Regions from separate parts of the Homo sapiens genome. Here region 1 is linked to region 2. The links are contacts of gene promoters, found by promoter capture Hi-C in blood cells and fetal thymus (Javierre and others, 2016). All regions are on one chromosome and are shown on one strand. The core of a region is centred on a gene start or on the middle of the fragment in contact, and the rest is flanking DNA. Distances in the headings are between cores, read along the strand shown.

Region 1 (2,915 bases), core at 1-2,500, 280 kb before region 2:
GCTGTTATGCAGTCAGGCCGACCCAGGTCTTCATCCACAACTGATGCACCTACCAGCTCTGCTATGATGGAAATAGCTTGTGCTGCTGCTGCTGCTGCTGCTGCATGTCTACCAGGAGAGGAGGGAACTGCGGAGCGGGTAAGTTTGTAAGATTTTGTTTTTCTGTTAACTTACTGTTTTTCATACCTAGGACTCTCCAGACTTTCCTTTGGTAACTAAAAAGATATCTCAGCAAATACCTTAAAGTTGTGGTAAAAGAATTTTTCCCCTTTTCAAATGGGTAAATAATAATTATAGCTAATGAATGAATGCTTAGAATTATATTCCTATTTCCTTCCTAACATAGTGCTATATTTTATTTTATCCTTTCGTTAAAACCTTAAGTATATTTCATGTATTCTTTCTGTATATTTGAGGGTCAGTTTTATGGTAGAGCAATAAAGATGCTTTGTTTCTTATTGTTTTGATTTTGCACATGGAGATGGCTTTCTTACATTAATGAATGTAGTGAATAAAGTTCTAGAATCTGAGTTTGTGCTTACCATGGAAGTACACTAAGTTGGTTATAATTTTCATATACTTTGTAGTACATCAGCAGCATTCATTTTACATTTTGCATGCCACAGTAGAGCATATACATTATTATAGTGTACTATTAATAAACAGATTGTTTTGGGTTTACCCAAAACCAGGCATATTAAATCTAGGAGAAACTTTTTCCATATAACTCTCAGTTATGGTTAGTTGAGGCACATAGAAGAAATAGTCCTGCTAGGGTTTGAAAACTCAGGTACGCGTAGCCATGCAGGTAGTGACAATGAGTGAACTTAGGTGTTATGGAGCTTGGACAAACTGAGGAGTTCCTGCTTTGTTTAACAGAGGCAATGTCTTAGCTTTAGCTGATGGTTGAAATTTAGTACTGTGGGCACAGTCTTGCCAGAGCTTCTGATTTTTTTCAAGAGAAACTGGAAATCTAGATGGGAAATCTCTTGATTTTTAACAGATATGCAAGCCACACTGAACACATTTGTGGGCTAGGTCTGCCTTGTAAGTTACCATTCAACTATCTTTCAGCATTACTTTTGTGTATTCCTTAAGGTTTTTGTTTGATCGTTTTCATTCTGTGTCTGCTTGCGGTACAGTTAGGTTTTTTTTTATTGGATATTAAGTTACCTGGAAATATAAATACTGAGTCTAGTACCTTAAACTTTTCCTAAGGTTTTTTTTTTATTGGATATTAAGTTACCTGGAAATATAAATATTGAGTCTAGAACTTTAAACCTTTCCTACCTAAATATGATATTTAAAACATATAGATAATGGACAGTAAATCACTTTAAACCTGTCAAAATAATGATGTGAATTAAAATTCAAAAAATTTAAATGGGGAAAAGTACCACATATTTATGTGTATATTCATTTTATTTTTTTTGGAGACAGGGTCTTACCCTGTCACCTAGGCTGGGGTGCAGTGGTGTGATCGTGGCTCACTGCAGCCTTAACCTCCCCAGACTCAGGTGATCATCCCACCTCAGCCTCCTGAGTAGCTGGTACTACAGGCGCATGCCAGCATGTCTGGCCAATTTTTTTTTTTTTTTTTTTGTAGAGAGGAGATTTTGCCTTGTTGCCCAGGCCAGTCTCAAACTCCTGAGTTCAAGTGATCCATCCACCTCAGCCTCCCAAAGTGCTGAGGTTACAGGCATGAGCCACCGTGTCCAGCCTATATTAGTTATCTTTGAAATAAAAAGAATATTTGGTCACTGATTACCCAAACTAGTTGGCAGTAAAGATTGACAGTGCAGCTATGTACCTTGTCTTAATCTTCAGCCTTTACCAGAGAACATTAAGGAATTTACAGCTAGTGATTCTGGGATTATAGACTTTTATGTTAAAAAGAAAAAGTGTAAGTAAAGCAGATTTTATTGGAAAACTTCAAGAGAAAGAGGGCAAAGTGAGAACTTTTTTCATAACATTGTTTCTTTAATGCTTTGTCAACTTTATTAGCATATGCTTACAGTAAAATCCACCAGTTTTAAGTGTACATCTTGACTAGTTTTGAAAAATGTGTAGTTTTATAGTAACACAGTCATTATATAGAACATTCCCATTACCCCCAAATAATGATTTCTCATGCCCCTTGGCTGCAGTCAGTCCCTCTTACCCAACCGGTGGCCTCTGGTAGCCGCTGATCTGCTTTCTATTGCTATAGTTTTGCCTTTTCTAGAATTTCCTAAAAAATTAGATCATGCAGTCTTTTGTGTTTGACTTCTTTCATTTAGTGTAATACTTTTCAACTGTTGTTGATTCAACTGTTGTTGAATGTGTTGATAGTTTGTTCCTTTTTATTGCTGCACTCCAGGCTGGGCAACAAAGCAAGACCCTGTCTCAACCCCCTACCACCCACCCCCACCAAAAAAGATAGATGTAAACTTCGGAGCTTCTAAAGGGAAAGTTTGGAAGTTATGGATTCAGGTTCTCTATTAAGGTTAATATCACTTCAGAGCTCACTATATCATCTTCTTATTTATAGCCAGATTTAGGAAAAGCAGTGTATATTAGGCTGCAATGAGGGAAGCTTTTTGGATTACTTATAGGCAGAAGGAAAGGGAAATTTTTGTAATGCCTGGCTGTACCTGGAAGATAGAGAAAAGTGGAAGAAGTTTGAGGGAGATGTATGTGTTCAAATAAAAAGATTTCTAAGTTTGAATTAGTTGAACTGTAAGCAAAACTAGTAATGCAGGTGTACTGTTCTCCCAGTGGGGAAGAAATGAAGCGGGGAAAAGGATAATTCATTTTGTTGACCACCAGGTGGTGCCCTAGGTGAGGATTGGTAGGTGGAAGTGAGGGGATGGATGCCTGACAGGACATTGATTAACCCCGGGGTGATAATTTAATTAGTACAGGAAGTCATTAGG
Region 2 (3,048 bases), core at 119-2,618:
TGCCCCATGCCCCCACTGCCCATACCTACCCAACATCCAAGCAAGAACTGGGGGCATTCTGGGCCCTTTCCTCCTCACCACACCCACTCGAGGCCTCCCCATAGGCTTTTCTCTCCATATTCTGGCCTCTCCTCTCCAACTCCCCAGCCCCAGCCTCCTCCCCACTGCCTCTTCCCCACCGCATGCATTCTCCTCGCTGTATCTCACACCCCTCACCTCCCTGCTTGAAACCGTCCATGGCTCCCTGTTCAAGATAAAAGTTGACCTAACTGAAGACCGCCTTGGAGGCCCTCCCACTGCTCCCCTAGCACTGCCCCAGCACTTCCCTCCTTCCCAGAAGGAAGATGCAGCTTCCGAGACAAGCTGCTGGTGCGCTGGCCTCTGGGCCTTAGCCCATGCCGTTTCCTCTGCCTGGGCTGCCTCTCTCCTCCCGGTCATGCAGGCTGCTCTCACTCATCCTTCAAGGCTCAAAATGCACCTTGGTTTGGACACCTCTGACTTCCCAGTTAACTCTGCCCTTTTACTTCTCGGCACCTGGACCCCCTCCCTATCTCCCTAGGTGTCTTGGCAAATAGAACACTTCCCCCGGCTGAGGCACACCCATCCTTCAGGGTCACCTCTTCTAGGAAGCTTTCCCTGACCTCCCAGAGTGGGTTAGAGGACTCCTCTGGGCTCCTCCAGCTCTGGATTACCGCCACTGAAGCACACATCACATTAGCAAACAGCAACAAGCCATGGGCCAGGCTTCCCCATCAGACCGGGAGGTCCTCGAGGGAGTGAACTGGGCCTGGTTTGCCTCGGTGCACCCTCATGTCCAGATAAACCCTGAGGTGTTTTTTGGTTGAAAATCGGAATGCCTAGCCCTGCATAAAATGCTCCTGCCCCAGTCCCTCCAACTAGCTGCCCACAGCTGCAGCCTGGCTACGGGCTACGGTCCCAGCAGGAAACGGGCTCCAGCTGGAAGGCCCTGTGGCTCTTCCCTGAGCGAGGCCGGCCCCAGCCCCCAGGCCCTACCTGGCCTTGCTACCTGTAGATCAGCTCTTCAGCCAAAAGGCAGTTGAGCTCAGCAGCTTGGTGCTGGGTGGGTGCTGGGTGAGTGCTGGGTGAGTGCTGGGTGGGTGCTGGGTAGGTGCTGGGGCCAGGCTGGGAAAGAACGAGAAGCAGGGGTGGAGCATCAAAGGCAACCCAGGGAGTGGGCTCGCAGGGATGAGGGAGGAGCTGCCTCCTCTTGCTCACCTGGCTTTTCAGATTCAGGAGACCTGGATGATCCTGCTGTGGAAGTCGAGGAGGGTGAGATGTCGCTGGTGACGCTCCCAGGAGCCATGAGACCGACAGGTGCAGCCAGCAGACCCCTCACCCGGGTGTGAGGCTGCTGGGCCTGCCCACTAGGCTTATATACCAGCAGCCCACCCCCACCACTCCAATCAGCCCTGATTGGGCTGGGAGTGCTCCAAGCTGCTGACTGGGGCTGGAGGTGTGGAATGGGGCACAGCATCCTGCCTTCTGTAGGGAGCCCCAGCTGGACTACCCACTCCTGTGTAAGCTTGGGGGTGTCGCTTGACTTCTCTGGGTCTCAGTCCCCATGGTGCAATGTTGGGAGCTGAGATGCTTGATCTCGCCTGTGCCCTCTGCCCACCAGGGGCTGGAGATGCTGATGAGGAATTGGGGTCACCTGTGTTGTCAGGGAGGCCGCTGAGGCGGCCCTCTAATCCTACCAGGTGGGCAATGGGCTGCCCCACGCCACTGCTGGCCTCAATTTCTCAAAAAGTAGCAGTTGGAGGCAGCCCAACTGCTACTTTTGCCCAGAGCACATGCCCCTCAATCAGAGTAGCCCCTTCTGAGGCCAGCCAGGCTCTCTGGGCCTATGCCCTCCTTTGGTTTTGTTTTTAAAGAAATAAATCAATAACGGAGGATGCTTCACAAAAGTCTTCATAGATAAGGACAACATCCACTGGGACAATGGACAAAGAATATAAACAGGCAATTCACCAGCCTAAAGGGTGAGGAACAGAAACAGGAAAATGGACACTCAACTTCCTTGGCATTTGAGAAAATTCAAATTGAAACAATGGTGAAATACTACTTTTTCCCATCAAATTGACAGACAAAAAAAAAAAACTTTCCAAGCAAACACCCAAGGCCTGGCTAAATCACACCCTTTCTGCAGAATATTCTGCAGCCATCTAAAATGACAAGGTGGGCTGGTGCGGTGGCTCAGGCCTGTAATCCTAGCACTTTGGGAGGCTGAGGTGGGCGGATCACCTGAGGTCAGGAGTTTGAGACCAGCCTGGCCAACATGGTAAAACTTCATCTCTACTAAAAATACAAAATTAGCTGGGCGTGGTGGTGTGCACCTGTAGTCCCAGCTACTTGGGAGGCTGAGGCAGGAGAATCACTTGAACCTGGGAGCTGGAGACTGCAGTGAACCAGGATCGAGCCATTGCACTCCAGCCTGGGCAACAAGAGCGAAACTGTGTCTCAAAAATAAGTAAATAAAAATAAAATAAAATAATATAATATAATATAAAATGACAAGATGGATTAAAACAAGGATGAGAGGCCAGGCATGGTGGCTCATACCTGTAATCCCAGAACTTCGGGAGGCTGAGGCAGGAGGATCGCTTGAGCCCAGGAGTTCAAGACCAGCCTAGGCAAAAAAGTGAAATCCTGTCTCTACCAAAAAATACAAAAATTAGCTGGGCATGGTGGTGTGCACCTGTAGTCCCAGCTACCTGGGAGGCCGAGGCAGGAGGATTGCTTGAGCCTGGGAGGTCAAGGCTGCAGGGAGCTGTGATCACACCCCTGCACTCCAGCCTGGGCTACAGAGTAAGACCCTGCCCCCCCCAAAAAAAAGGGGGAGGGAAAGAAAAGAAAACAAACAAGAATGAGGCTGTATTTCACACTCAGCAAAATGACAAAGATGTAAGTGTCTATCAATAGTGAGTGACTAGGATTCAAGGAAAGTATAGCTGCTGGGGGGTGGGGAGTGAGCTGGTAGCCGCCTTAGAAAGCAATTCAGCGATGTTTCATACAACTAAGGAGGGACTC

Evidence for each region. The method cuts DNA at HindIII sites, captures the fragments that hold promoters and counts their contacts. A CHiCAGO score of 5 or more calls a contact.
Region 1: a contact is called between a fragment that was not itself captured here and the fragment with the promoter of H1-8 in region 2, in 1 of 17 cell types (M1 macrophages). The highest score is 5.8, in M1 macrophages.

Annotation. Positions count from the first base shown.
Region 1 is chr3:129,825,026-129,827,940 of GRCh38, reverse strand. It overlaps TMCC1 (transmembrane and coiled-coil domain family 1), which reads left to right. Exons shown (of 7, transcript NM_001017395.5): 4 at 1-138. Among named protein-coding and RNA genes, the nearest start is that of TMCC1, 67 kb to the left of the region's middle. The HindIII fragment of the contact is 2,654 bases long and covers 1-2,577 here.
Region 2 is chr3:129,541,495-129,544,542 of GRCh38, reverse strand. H1-8 (H1.8 linker histone) reads right to left here and starts at 1,368. Exons shown (of 5, transcript NM_153833.3): 1 at 1,237-1,368. The coding sequence starts at 1,324. RefSeq lists an enhancer at 1,328-1,829. The HindIII fragment of the contact is 913 bases long and covers 633-1,545 here.